Linked DNA regions of Homo sapiens: region 2 is linked to region 1. Evidence: promoter capture Hi-C in 16 types of primary human blood cells and fetal thymus (Javierre and others, 2016). All regions are on one chromosome and are shown on one strand. Each heading gives the region's core, a stretch centred on a gene start or on the middle of the fragment in contact. The rest is flanking DNA. Distances are from core to core; before and after follow the strand shown.

Region 1 (7,721 bases), core at 2,413-4,912:
ATAGTGGGAACTTTGGCCTTGTCCGTCTGGCTGACCATAATGATAACTCTGGTCTTGTCTGTCTATCTTACCATAGTGGGAACTCTGGCCTTGTTTGTCTGGCTGACTGTAGTGGGAACTCTGGCCTTGTCTGTCTGTCTGACCATAGTGGGAACTCTGGCCTTGTCTGTCTGTCTGACCATAGTGGGAATTCTGGCCTTGTCTGTCTGGCTGACCATAGTGGGAACTCTGGCCTTGTCTGTCTGTCTGACCGTAGTGAGAACCCTGGCCTTGTCGGTCCATCTGACTGTAGTGGGAACTCTGGCCTTGTCTCTCTGTCTGACCATAGTGAGAACTTTGGTCTTGTCTGTCTGTCTGACCATAGTGAGAACTCTGATCTTGTGTGTCTGGCTGACCATAGTGGGAACTCTGACCTTGTCTGTTTGGTTGACTGTAGTGGGAACCCTGGCCTTGTCTGTTTGTCTGATCATAATGATAACACTGGCCTTTTCTGTCCATTTGACCATAGTGGGAACTCTGACCTTGTCTGTCTGGCTGACTGTAGTGGGAACTCTGGCCTTGTCTGTCCGTCTGACTGTAGTGGGAACTCTGGCCTTGTCTGTCTGTCTGACCATAATGATAACTCTGGTCTTGTCTGTCCGTCTGACCGTAGTGGGAACTCTGGCCTTGTCTGTCTGTCTGACCACAGCCTAATTCCTGACCTAGCCTCTCAGACTGTCCACAATAAGAGCCTGATTTCTGTTGATTTGTCTGGTTAAAGTGAGAGGCTTGTCCAAGTGTTTCAGATTGTTGTGTATGTCTTTCAGACTGACCATAATGAGAATCCTGAATTGGTTTTTCACACCGATTTAAGGCAAAGATATGTCCCTGCCATTTAGCCTGGCCACTGGTAGATTTGTGACTCACTTTTTTACCAGAGCTGGAGTCTTGACTTTGTCTCTCTGACTGATCAAAGCTGAAATCCTTGTCTTGTCTCTCAGACTGATTGTGGTGAGAATCTCTGTCTTGTCTCTCAGGCTGACTGTGGTGGGAATCTCTGTCTTGTTTCTCAGACTGACCATGGTGGGAATCTCTGTCTTGTCTCTCAGGCTGACCATGGTGGGAATCTCCGTCTTGTCTCTCAGGCTGACTGTGGTGGGAGTTCTGCCTTTCTTCCTCGTGCCTCTGTCTGTGTTGTCTGCCTGTGTTTCCTGGGAACTTACAGTCTTGTGCTCCTTCCTGCCCCCTTTCTTGCTGTGAGGTCCTGCCTCCATGTGACTTATTGTCTAGCTTATGATAGCAGGCTTGGACCAACTGGAACACCAACAAGAGGTACTCATGAAAATCAATATGTCCATCTCGGTCTTGATCTAAGAGGTTCAAGATGGTTTCCACAGTCTCTGGGTCATTTGGTCTCTGTTAGGAGATAAAACAAAGAGCAAAATCAGATGCTGTCTTGTGCATACTAAGATGTGTATCAGTGTTCATGCCCCAATCCATTCGGTGCTGCACGGACCTTCCTAGGTTGAAAAACCATTAATCTGAAGTGGTGTGGACTTGGCGCTAGTCTTTGATCAGCTGGTTCTCAGAACCTTGCTGGATCAATGGGAGCATGACCATAGGGAGTAGATACATTTATTTAAAATCATCTCCATTAGTAATTAATTTGATTCATTTCAAAGTTATCCCATTCCATCACAGGCTATATCCTAGTTGTTTAGCCCCTTTTGTTTTTCACTGCACTGTGAGATCCTAGAGGGAGGGGGAGCTGATTTTATTCATGTTTGTATCCCTTGTGCCTAGGGGCATAGAGCAGGTGCTCAGTGACTCTTTATTGGTTGAATGAATGAATACATGAAAAGATGTGTGGATAGCACTAAATGAATACATTAAAAGATGTGTGGATAGCACTAAATATAGAAATCAAAGTATGAATCTTAGGTTTTCTTCTGAGAAATTATTCCCTGTTACCTTGAAGTTATACTCTCTCCTGTTCAAATTCAGATACAAGGAGGTGTGTGTGTGTGTGTGTGTGTGTGTGTGTGTGTGTGTGTGTGTATGCTGGGAGAGAACTACTAAGGAGCTGCCTGAAATTCCTTTTCTTACAGGGCAGAGCAAGCCCAAATAAAACAAAGCATCCAACCCTGGTGCAGGTGTCAGAGTCATTCACACTTGATCTCATGGGGCTGTGTGTCTGTGTATCTTACCTGGAGGATGTCTCCAAACTCAGCCAAGAGCAGTTGTTTCAACTCTTCCTTGCATAGTAAGGCACAGTCCCCATTCCCTTTGGCATATTTGTGGAATACGTCAATCACACTGAGTATGCTATTCAGGAGTTGAGCCATTTTGACAAGTACGGGTGAACCTAAAAGAAGAAACAAGATTTCTCCTGCCGTTAGGATAATGACCACGAGACAGCATTTCCAGAGGGAAAGTGACCCCTCTGGATCTGGGAGAAAGTTTAAGAAGTGAGAGAGCCCCTTCTTAGCTGTACCCCTTCCTTGCCCTGACTCACAGTCGGGGACCAAATCTCATTGCTATAGTGGGAGATGGTGCAAACTTGGTTCCCTTGCTATAAAAAGAGACAATTTCTTAAAAAACAAAAAATGCATTGCAGGTGTTTTACATATCCCATCCTCTACTCCAGACAGGATTCACCTGATTGAAAATCTCATATTAGAACAAAAGGAGGGGAGGCCAGGAAGCCCAATAGAGGCAGGAATAGAAGCCAGCATAGTAGGGCATAATTTTCGACTAACAACTAGCAAACTGGAGGGGGCACTAAATAGATCCCACTGAACAGGTTTCAGTCTTGTAATGAGCCTTTCTTAAGCAAGGAAGAAGGCTGAAAGTCTCTCTTCACGGTCTAAGGAAGCTTTCTGGGAGGCTAAATTCCAGCAAATGCTTCTGGCCTGGATGGTTTTGGGACATGCTTATAAAATGAAATCAATGAATATAAAAGCTGTTACAGATAAAAATAGCAAGTGGGTACATAGCCAAATTAAGGGCACAGATTATAGGAGGTATATATAATCAGTTAGGTCCACATTGGCCATGCTGGGAGACTTGGGTCTTTTGGGATCTAAATCTCAATTACATTTTTTTTCTTGTGGAATGAAAATTCCAGTTAGTGGGTTTATAGGCCTCCAAACTGAAGCCCTATCTGCAGAGCATGTTGAATTGCCAAAAGCATACAAACAGTGATGTCTATAAGAAAATAAGTGACAAATAATGGATCACATGGGACAAGCTGAGTCCCTTGTTGTAATTCAATGCAATGAGACTTGAGCATTGCTGGGCCCATGGTCCAGAGCCTTGGCCCTAAACTATTCGGTCTTTCCTAACTTGCACAAAAAGTAAATGCTCCACTATGGGAGACTAAGCTATTCATCAATTGTTCTAGCCCTCAGTTTTGGGATGCCTAGGACACATTGAAGTGAAGGCATTTGCATTTTACAGACACAGAAGTAGTCCACCCCAGCTATTGTCATATTCTCAGATAGAGCCAGAAAAAGGAAGCAGAAGGTAACCAAAGCTGTTACCCACAGGAATTAAGTCTCAGACCTCCCCAGCCTGGTGCATTATAGGGCTCTTGAGAGCCTTGTAGATACTACCAATGCTCCCCTATGCATGTCTTACCTGCTTGAGGAGGAAGGAGCAGAAGATTCAGGAGTCAGAGAGGATACTGGGGACCTAAAAACTCATCCTATTTATAGGGGTTTTAATTATCCTACCAGGCCATCCCAGGAGACACCCATTCTGTGGCAAAGCCTGAATCACTCTGGTCCCAGCCCAGCTCAGCCCAGCTTGACCTCTCCCTCTGCAAACTGTTTGGTTTATTTACTTCCCCCACTTGCTCATGAACCTGTTTGTCACTACAGTAGGTGACGCTGTTTAAGTCCCAGTCCCATTTAATTAAGAGAATGTGTGTGTATGTGTATGTATTTGTGCTGTGAGGGTCCCAAAAGACAGAGGTGTTGGCTGAGTTCATCCTTAATATATGTCACTTGCCAATACTAATAGAGGGCAACAGTCAGCTCATACTGAAGAATGCTATCTATGTGGTCACTTACAAACATATGTCAAAGTTGGAACTAGAGATTCTATTTATTTGGCCAGAATATAGTTCCTGGAAGAGGTTTCTTTTAGACTAACCTTTTTCTTGTGCTGGTAGATATTTGGCTATTAACCTATTAACTTATTTTGAATTACTATTATTTTTTCATTTAACAGCTCCACAGGCTAGTTGGGAGAAGTAGATACATGGTCAGTTTTGGGGATGAGGGGCTCCAATGGTGCAACTTCTACCACTTAAGCCTTCTAAGACTTACTACTAAAAAGTTTGAATTGAGGGACATCATGGAAGTTTATGATATCTGTGAGAGAGAAATGCTGCTAGAGACCCCAGCTTCTGTTCACTTCCCATCTCCGTGCCCTTGGATGCCAGCACAGTGTCTTGAGCATGGGAAATTCTTAGTGAATATTTTTGGGGTAAAGGAATTATTGGATTATGGAAGCACTGAAGAATTGTATGTAAGGTGCAAAAAGCTGTAGACTCACCTGTATTTCTACGTTTGTCTCACATCTAGATCCCTGTTTGGACTTTTTCCTATGTATCCATCAGCCAATCCATTATTATTAATAACACTAACTATTACTTACTATGTGTTCAGGATTCTACAAGGGAATCACAACAGTGCAGAAAGATTTTAGTTTAGTTGGAATAAAGAAGCTTCACATAGAAAAATATTTTGAACTCCAGGGATAGGACATGCTAAGTGCTGAGTATTAGAAACCTAGGCGCATGTGGAGTCCTCATGGCTGGGCCTGGACGTCCCTTAGGAGGTGAGCTTCATGTTGTTCCTGAAAGGATTCAGGTGGGCAGAGAAGAAAGCAAAGAACTTCTGAGTGGGGAGAAGGGAAGAATCAAAGGTACTAAGGTGAGAGTTTGGATTCGAGTGAGCTGGTAAGTCTGTGTTGAGCAGAGGGATTTAAAAGAGCAGAGGGATTTAAAAGAGTAGACTTAGAAAATTTTGGAACTGAAAGGGAAATCTAGCCTCTTAATTTTACAGATGAGGAAACTGAGGTTCAGCTAGATTGACTGTATTTGCCAAGGGTTTCACGGGCTATGACTAAAGCCAGGCCTGGTTTACTTGTTTCCTCACTCCAGACCGATATGCTTTCTGAGACATTCTCTGAGGCAGATTTGGGGCCTACTTTAGGGTTTATTTTAATGAGAAAGCAGAAGTAGGGTTTTGGCTAGGAAAAGTGACATAATCAAAGCATTATTTAGAGGAAGAATCTAATGGCTCTGTTGTAGTTGGTCAGATGTCTCAGTTTGTCTGGCACTAAGGAGTTTCCCAGGACATGAGACTTTCAGTGGGATAATTCTGGGCAATCTGGACCGAGTTGGTCACCCTAAACTGTGGTGTACAAGATAAATTGGACAGAGGAGTACTGGGCAGTGAGACCAGTTAGGAGTCTATTATATGGCATGGGTGAGAAGTGACAAGGACTTCGACCTGGACGCAGTAGTTCAAAACTATAGGAAGGTAGATGGATAATAGCAGGGATAAAGGGATGAGGTCTGGGGACAGATTAGAAGAGGGGCAGGGAAAGTGGGAACATTAGGTGAGATTCCAAGTCTTTAAGTCTAGATAACTAGTAGAACTATGGTACACTGAAGAAATGTAACTTCTGAAGGGGGACTGCTGGGTCTAAGATCTAGTGCTTCTATTGGCATTTCCCAGGGTCTCTGCCTTTTGTAGTCTTGTTATCATCCCTCCAGCTTGCATCCTTGGCTGTTTGGGGTCTCCCAGCACAAGTCAGGACTTTCTTAAGTCTATTCATAAATTCTGAGGGCTGGGTCACATTAAGGTTCTCCTTATACTTTTGCATCTCTACTTAGTGCTCTTCAGTTATGTCTCTTCTCACCTGTTAGAATAAAAGACCTAGAGAAGATTTGGTTGTCCCCAGAGGCAAATAAGAGGAGTAGGGGTGGGATGGGCAGGGGTTGAAGACAATAGCCATCAGGAAACAGAACAACAATGCTGTGTCCCCTTTCTCTTGGCGTGTTCCATGGCTCTCTAGCAACTGTTTCTTTTGGTTAGACAGGCAGTTCTGTTTGTTTGATGTTGCAGTGAGAGAAAGATTATGTTCTTAAGAGTAGGATCCGCTATGTGTGCATTCATTTAACACTTAATACACTCCGATAGAATAGGCAGAGAACTATGTTGATCAGCCAATCAGTTAATCAATTAGTATTTGTGACCATACAGAGGGCGCCCTTTTGTGGGCACTGAGATAAAATGTAGTCTTTGTCCTTAAAGAACTTTCAATGCCACTGGGATTGAAATAAAACACCTTTGAAGGAATCATGAAATGTGACCTTTGTTTCTTTATCTGTAAAAGGAGAGGGTTGGAGCTTTATTTTGGTGTTGGCATTCTGAGATTCTGTCATGCCAATCTTAAGGTTAACAGTGGCTTTAGAGGTAATATTTAAACATTGCTCTATTCAGATATTCGATAAAGGCCTCAGAATTTGTGCTTCTCAGTCTTTCTCTGTGGAAAATGGAGAAGTCAATTATGGGTATCCTGTTTCTTCATTAACATTTATAAATTTCATGAGGACCTACACTATTTTAAAAAATTATTTTTCAGTGTGTTTTGCAGCTTAAATGCAGTCATGTTGTAGTGTGACCTTTGGTCTCAAAGGCAAGATGTTTTTAAGCTACAATTTATTGAAATCTTATTGTGTGCTAGGCTCTGCATTAAGCATTTTATATATATTATCTCCTTAAAAATAATTTCAATTTTTATTTCATATTCCATGGGTATATGTGAAGGTTTATTACATGGGTATACTGCTTGTCATTGAGCTTTGGGATATGAATAATCCCATTGCCCAGATAGTGAGCATAGCACCCAATAGTTTTTCAATCGTTTCTCCCCTTCTTCCCCCTTCTAGTAGTCCCCAGTGTCTATTGTTGTCATCATTATGTTCCAGAGTACCCAATGTTTAGCTCCCACTTATATGTGAGAATATGTGGTATTTGGTTTTCTGCTCCTGTACTGATTTGCTAGGATAATGGCCTCCAGCTGCATCTTATGCACCTGACAAAGGTCTAATATTCCAAATCTATAAACTTATTATCTTGTTTAATTCCCACAAAAACTCCATGAGGCAGAGAATATTGTCTTCATTTTTCAAACAAAGATACTGGGGCTCAGAAAAGGATAAATAACTTGCTCAAGGTCACACAACTTGCAACTGGCTGAGCTGAGGCTTGAACCCATGTCTTCCTGATTCCAAAGCCCTTGTTTGCAATCCCTATGTTATGTTGCCTCTTTTGGAACAGGACTGGTGATTACTCCCTCCCCAATGAGAGAAATAACTTTCCACATAGACTGAAGTGAGTAAGACCAGGGTAACTTCCTTATGACATACTGTGAAGGAATCTGACCTTGAAATGAGAATCTCCTGACCCTTAACCAGTCAAATATTTATTATTTTCTTATGCTTCTCCAGAACTTAGATGATTTCAACACTAAAGGACTTTGTAATCTATTTGGGGAGATAAGACAGATGCTTCTATTTACAGAAACAAAACCCACGGAGAAAAAAAATACCCTTCTCTCTTTACAATTGACAGCTCTGGGCACTGGTTTGACATGAGACTGAAGAAGTTCCACTTGTTGCACATTCCCTGCAGTTCTTGATCCTACTGTAAGCCTTTGCTGTC
Region 2 (7,721 bases), core at 2,335-4,834, 300 kb after region 1:
AGCCTGACTCCAAAAGACAAAGGTTGACCGTGGGCATCTCCAGGGAAGGGAGCAACTTCTATTGATTTTTGAATCCAGAGCAACTTCCATTGATTTCTGAAGCTCCAGAGTATAGTTGGGTGCAACAAATGTGAATCCCCAAAGACACAGGGCCCCGCTTAAGACCCCACACGTGGTTTTCCTCCCAGAGTCAAAACCCAGCAAGTTTGTGCCCCTCTAACAGCAGTATGAATCTTGGGCCCCAAGGCTGTGTCTGGGGCAGCCCTTCATCTCTAACTTCTGAGTATTCTTGGCAACCACCTGGAACACAGTTTTCCATGGTGCAGTGCTTCCTCCTCCACCTGCCCTTTCACATAAGGGATCGCCTTTGACCTTAACACCTGCTCTCTCTGTTTGACAGATGATATTTGATTTTTGAAGATGGAAGAGCATCTATCCATGCATCCATTCATTCATAAAACTGATAAGTATTTGTTGAGTGTCTACGATGTCCAGTCAGTGTTATTGACTCTAGAGATACAGCAGTAAACAGAATAGATAAAAGCTGGGATATGTGGGTGGGAGTAGTAGGCAGTAAACAATAACCCTAATAAATATGTAAATTATACAACATGTTAGAAGGCGGTAACCACTATAGAAATAGAGCTGAATAAGGAATGAGAGTGCAAGTGGCAAGGATAAAGGGTAAGTTGTAATTTAAATGGACTGGTCAGCTCTGCTTTATTAAGAAGCTTACTTTTGAAAGAAATATAGGGAGGGAGCCAAGCAGATATCTTGGGTAAGAAGATTCCAGGTAGAGGGAAAAGCCAATGCAAATGTCCTAAGGTGAAATCATTCCTGATCTACACAAGATACAGCAAAGAGGCCAGTGTGGCTGGAAGGGAGTGAGAGAGGAGAGTAATGGGGTTGAGCTACCTCTACTGACTGAGTATATATTATATGCTGGGCACCACTAGGCACTTAAACATGCTGATCATGTCAACTCCTCTGGGAGTGTGTTATGGACCAATTTAGAAGTTGAGAAATAGTGGTTTGGTGAGAGTGGGTAACTCACACATGGCCACAGAGCCAGCAAAGCAGATGTTCTGGCTCCAGAGCCCCGTTCTCTCCTCTGCACCCCATTGCCTTCATTCGGCCGAGTGGCCCTGCCTGCAGCAGCTGCCATGCTCTGAGCTGGCCTCCTGGTGTCAGTGAGCCCCAGCTCAGTGGCCGAGGAGGGCCCCAGGAGTCACAGGCTCTCACTGATCCCCACCACACCGAGGCTGCTTCCTTGTACCCCTGGTTTTAGGTCCAGCGTCCTCACCACTCTGAAATCAATTACTATTTTTACTTCTCTTTTTTTTTTTGGCATTAAGTAGACTTTTGGTTTTTAAATTATCTGAAAGTAAAAGCACAGAAGTGACATTCTTCTTGAAAGTGAAAGCAAGTGTGGAACATTTTTAACCATGCTGTTTCCTATCTGTTCTAGTTTCTGTAGGTAGTGGGTTCAGAGTAGCTCAGAGTATAAGGTGTGGGATGTGTGTGGGGGTGAGGGTTGGCCCAGGTGGACATCAGCATTTGACTCCTTCCTGGTTGCTGTAATTTGGGAGGGACTAACCAGGCTGCTAGATGTGCAGAAGGGTGGGCGCCACCTGCTGGTTGTGTGCATAAACCGCCTTTTCACCCAGTCAATCTTCATTCTTCTTTACTTGGAAATGGCAAATGAAGCCTTTCTATACGTGACTCTAGCAAATTAATTATTTCAGTCTTCCCGAAACACTTTATGTATATAATACCTCATGGTAGCATCATGCAAATGTCCCTTTGCCTTTGCTTGTGCTGGTATACCTTACGAAAAACAATCTGTACATCCAAGATGTCCCCCAACATCACCTACTTCAAAAATCACCTACTTCCAAGATCCATCCCTTACACTCTCCAAACTCCCCAGTCCTCAGAGACCCTAAGACACCTTGAACTACATCTAATCACCATGTGGCTAATGTGTTTGTCTTCTCCCAGAGGGGGACAGAGAATTAGCATTAAATTATGGCAGATCCCAGAAGATGTGCACAGGTCCTAGGACACAGCAAGGTGTTCAATAACTGTTGAAAGAAAGAATGCAGGCAACATATAACAATAAATAGGAAACAGACTGCATTTCGGTTTGTGGAGATGTGTGACATCTAAATAGAAGAAGAATGTCCTCCTTTGGTGATAGAGTTCCAAAGAGTTATTGCACTTATAAACTTTTTATACTAAGTATTGATGCTGGCAACTCAAAAACATCCCTTTTTAAGATTTTTAGGGGCCAAAATTCATACGGACACTCCCAGATGTTAAGGTTTTGACTTCTAAAAAGAGACGAACTGCCTGTATTTTAGGTTTATTTTATTTATTATTATTATTATTTTTTGAGACGGAGTCTCGCTCTGTCGCCCAGGCTGGAGTGCAGTGGCGCTATCTCGGCTCACTGCAAGCTCCGCCTCCCAGGTTCACGCCATTCTCCTGCCTCAGCCTCCCAAGTAGCTGGGACTACAGGCTCCCGCCACTACGCCCGGCTAATATTTTTGTATTTTTAGTAGAGACGGGGTTTCACCGTGTTAGCCAGGATGGTCTCAATCTCCTGACCTCGTAATCCGCCCGTCTCGGCCTCCCAAAGTGCTGGGATTACAGGCGTGAGCCACCACGCCCAGTTCATTTTAGGTTTTACTAACTCACTCTTATCCTTTAATCTGGCCACACAGATACCTTACCAGGTCTTAAGTCACTGTTAAAAAAAATTTTTCCCCAAACGTATCACATATTACCAGGATTGTCTGACTACATGTGTGCCTCCCACAAAGGGCTTAGCCTCTGTGTTGGGAAATGGAGATGTGCTAGAAAGCCAGGCTCGAGCATTGTCTATGGCCATCAGTGCTGTGCTAAATAAGGACTTGTGGAAAGGCGCCCTCTCGTGGGGAATCAGCGAATTAAAAATAAAAGAAGTTACACAACTGTAGCCATAGATACAGATAGATATGACACAAAATCTTCCTATTGCTTCCCTACACGCTCTCTTTTCAATGTCTTTCAAGAACTAAAAGTTTTTAATTTTAAGGATTTCAATTTATCAGTTTTTTCTTTTATAAAATATAAAATAATTTTTCTTTTATAAAATAGTACTTTTTATGTCCTGTTTAGGAAATCTTTGTCTACCCAGTATATTTTCTTCTGTTTTAATTTAGAAGCTGGATTATTTTAACCCTCACATTTAGGTCTATGATCCATTTCTTACAAATATTTTTGTATGGATTGAGGTAGGGGTCAAGGTTCATTTATTTCCCCACATGGATATTCAAATGACCCAGAATCATTTCCTACCATTTTTTTTTCCCCTACTACATTGCAGTGGAGTTTTGTCATAACTTAGTTGGCCGTATATGTATGGGAACGTTTTTGACTTCTTATTTTGTTCTATTGTTCTACTTTCAAACTAATACCGCAGTCGTAGTTACTGCAATGTTATAACAAATTTTGATATCGGGCGGTATAAATCTCGCAAATTTATCCCTTTTTAAAATATTGGCTGGCTGGGCTATTCTCTTTGCTCCTTCCTTCCTTCCTTTTTTTTTTTTTTTTTTTTTGAGTTTCACTCTTGTTGCCCAGGCTGGAGTTCAATGGCGCGATCTTGGCTCACTGCAACCTCCGCCTGCCAGGTTCAAGCGATTCTCCTGCCTCAGTTTACCAAGTAGCTGGGATTACAGGCATGCGCCACCACGCCTGGCTAATTTTGTATATATTTATTAATTTTTTTTAGGCGGAGTCCCACTCTGTCGCCCACGCTGGAGTGCAGTGGCGCGATCTCCGCTCACTGCTACTTCTGCCTCTCGGGTTCAAGCGATTCTCCTGCCTCAGCCTCCTGATTAGCTGGCATTACAGGCGCGCTCCATCACGCCCGGCCCTAATTTTGTATTTTTAGTAGAGACAGGGTTTCACCATGTTGGTCAGGCTGGTCTCGAACTCCTGACCTCGTGACCGCCCGCCTCGACCTCCCAAAGCGCTGGGATTAAAGGCGCGAGCCATCGCGCCCGGCCCTAATTTTGTATTTTTAGTAGAGAAGGGGTTTCACCATGTTGGTCAGGCTGGCCGGTCTCGAACACCTGACCTCGGGTGATCCACCAAAGTGCTGGCAGAGCCAACACGCCCGACCAATTCTTTGCATTTTCATACACGTTTTAGAATTTGCCTGTCAATTTTATTTAAAAAACCCTGCTGGGATGAGAATTTCTTTAACTCTATACAAAAAAGTGAAGATAATTGACATGTTACAATATCAAATTTCTAACTCATAAATATTGAATATTTTTTCATTTATTTAGGACTTCTTTCATTTCTCTCAGTACTATTTTATAGTTTTCAGCCTAGAGAAGTTGCACATTTTCTAACAGATTTATTTCTGTTTGTTTGATGTTTGTGGGTGCTATAATAAATGATATCTTAAAATTTTTATTTCTTATTTGATGGTTGCTAATAAATCAAAATACAATTGATTTATTGTAAATTGACTTTTATCTATCATCCTTGTTAAGTTTAGTTATAATTTTAGTTGTTTTGTACATTATTTTTGATTTTACACGAACACAATCATGTCATCTGAGAATAATAAGTTTTATTTTTTCTAATCTGAATATCTTTTATTATTATTTTCTATTTCTATTGTGATGACCATATTATATTTCTCCTTTACTTTATTAATGTTAATTAATCATTAATTGCCTTTCAAATTTGAAAGAGGTTTGAAACTGTTTCTAAAATAAACTCTATTTGTTGATCAGTTATATGTTATTCAACCAAACACTAATCTAGGTTTTGTTGTAAATGTATTTTAAAGATGTGATTAATATTTGTAATCAGTTCACTTTAAGTAAACGAAATTGCTCTATGGATTTCAGACTTGCCTATCCAGCATCCACAATCCTATAAGCCAGTTCCTTGCAATCACTTTCTCTTTCTTTCCCTCTCCTCCACCCCCTTTCCTACACACACACACACACACACACACACACACTCTCTCTCTCTCTCTCACACACACACACACTCTCTCTCTCTCTCTCACACACACACACACACACACGTACTGGTTCTGGTATTCTTCTAGTGCAACTCTGACTGACAGAGATTTTCATACTCAGAGGTAGAGTGTAGAGGAACAGAAAAATGAGTTTTCTGAACTAATTCTGGGTTTTCTGCAATTATCTAATCTAATTGGATTTAAAGGCACTGATGACTATTTTCAGTGGTAAAGAGGGCACTGGTAGTCCATGGTGTGATGTGGCAACAAAGATATGGCCATTAGATACTCCTTGTCAAATACCTATTTTATTTTATTTTATTATTATTATACTTTAAGTTTTAGGGTACATGTGCACAATGTGCAGGTTAGTTACATATGTATACATGTGCCATGCTGGTGCGCTGCACCCACTAACTCATCATCTAGCATTAGGTATATCTCCCAATGCTATCCCTCTCCCCTCCCCCCCCACCACAGTCCCCAGAGTATGATGTTCCCCTTCCTGTGTCCATGTGTTCTCATTGTTCAATTTCCACCTATGAGTGAGAATATGCGGTGTTTGGTTTTTTGTTCTTGCGATAGTTTACTGAGAATGATGATTTCCAATTTCATCCATGTCCCTACAAAGGACATGAACTCATCATTTTTTATGGCTGCATAGTATTCCATGGTGTATATGTGCCACATTTTCTTAATCCAGTCTATCATTGTTGGACATTTGGGTTGGTTCCAAGTCTTTGCTATTGTGAATAATGCGGTAATAAACATACGTGTGCATGTGTCTTTATAGCAGCATGATTTATAGTCCTTTGGGTATATACCCAGTAATGGGATGGCTGGGTCAAATGGTATTTCTAGTTCTAGATCCCTGAGGAATCGCCACACTGACTTCCACAATGGTTGAACTAGTTTACAGTCCCACCAACAGTGTAAAAGTGTTCCCATTTCTCCACGTCCTCTCCAGCACCTGTTGTTTCCTGACTTTTTAATGATTTCCATTCTAACTGGTGTGAGGTGGTATCTCATTGTGGTTTTGATTTGCATTTCTCTGATGGCCTGTGATGGTGAGCATTTTTTCATGTGTTTTTTGGCTGCATAAATGTCTTCTTTTGAGAAGTGTCTGTTCATGTCCTTCACCCACTTTTTGATGGGGTTGTTTGTTTTTTTCTTGTAAATTTGTGTGAGTTCACTGTAGATTCTGGATATTAGCCCTTTGTCAGTTGAGTAAGTTGTAAAAATTTTCTCCCATTTTGTAGGTTGCCTGTTCATTCTGATGGTAGTTTCTTTTGCTGTGCAGAAGCTCTTTAGTTTAATTAGATCCCAAATACCTATTTCTTTTCTTTGGAGAATTTACATAAGATTGGTATTGTTTCTTCCTTAATAGAGGAGAAGAATTTACCGGTGAAGCTTCTGGGCTTGGCATTTTTTTGCATTTGAAAGTCTTTTTAAGGAAACATTTAAATTATTTTAATATTGAAATTTTACATTTCTTCTTAGGTCAGTGTTAGCGAGCTGTTTTTTAAAGAATATCCTTTTCATCGGAATTTTCTATTTTATTGGCATAATGTTGTTCATAATAATGTATAATCAGTAGTGATTCCCTCTTTTTCTTCCTGATATCCATAATTTTCACTTTTGCTTTTATTTTCTTGCCCAATTTTATTAATTTTTAATTTTTAACTTTACTCATTTTAATCCTTTCTAAAAAAATTTTTGAAAAGAGTAACTTTTGACTTTGTTGATTTTCTCTATTGTGTGCCTGTGTTCTATTTCATTGATTTCCTCTCTTTATTATTTATTTATTATTTAAAATTTCAGGAAGAGGTTAGTTGGCCATTCTTTTTCCAGTATTTTGAGAAAAAATTTAGATCTTTGCCCACATTTCTTTTTTCTAATATTTACCTTAAAGTACAAGATTTTCTCTAAGAACTGATTTAGCAGCATTGAAAGTTTTGATGCAGAATATTTTATTATAAGTCAGCCCAAAATGTTTCCTACTTTGCTATGTGATTTATTTCTTCGACTGATGGGTCATTTAAAAACATGTGGCTTAATTTCCACACATTTGGAGATTTTCTAGTTATCTTTCAGTTAGTGAGTCCTGACATAATTTCACAGTGGTCAGAGAACATATGATTTCAGATCTCTGAAAATTTTAAGACATGATTTATGATCCAAGACAGTTTATTTTGGTCAATGTTCAAAGTACATTTGAAAAGAATGTGTATTCTGATAGTTGATGTTTGCTCTATGTATGCCCATTATGTCAGGTTGATTTATCCTCCTCAACTTTACTGCTTGTTCTAATTAATTACTGAGAGAGAGACAGATGTTACTATCTTCAATATAATTATGGAGTTCTCTATCTCTCCCTTTAGTTCTGACAATTTTTGCTTACTGTAATTTGTTTTCACAAAGTATATTTTCTACCATTTTTAAAATTTGCACCATTCTGTGTCTTTATGTATGACAGGTGTTTCCTATAAACAACATAAAATTGATTTAAAAAAATCAAGTCTAATACTCTTTGTCTTTTGATTGTAGTATTTAGACCATTCACATTTAATGTAATTACTGATATAGCTAGGTTTACGTTTGCCATTTCTACTTTTTCTTTGTTTCATTTCTTTAATAATTTTAGTCTATTTTGGATCAATTTTTAAATTATTTCATTTCTCTTCTGTTA

What was found. Contacts are between HindIII fragments. The CHiCAGO score rates a contact against its expected background, and 5 or more counts as called.
Region 2: a fragment that was not itself captured here is called in contact with the fragment with the promoter of RPTN in region 1 in 14 of 17 cell types (total CD4 T cells, M2 macrophages, M1 macrophages and 11 more); the score reaches 11.0 in total CD4 T cells.

What each region holds. Positions count from the first base shown.
Region 1 is chr1:152,155,566-152,163,286 of GRCh38, forward strand. It overlaps RPTN (repetin), which reads right to left and starts at 3,663. Exons shown (of 3, transcript NM_001122965.1): 1 at 3,619-3,663; 2 at 2,187-2,344; 3 at 1-1,395. The coding sequence starts at 2,324. The HindIII fragment of the contact is 1,857 bases long and covers 2,853-4,709 here.
Region 2 is chr1:152,458,833-152,466,553 of GRCh38, forward strand. No RefSeq gene overlaps it. Among named protein-coding and RNA genes, the nearest start is that of LCE5A, 48 kb to the right of the region's middle. RefSeq lists an enhancer at 1,674-1,733. The HindIII fragment of the contact is 5,711 bases long and covers 730-6,440 here.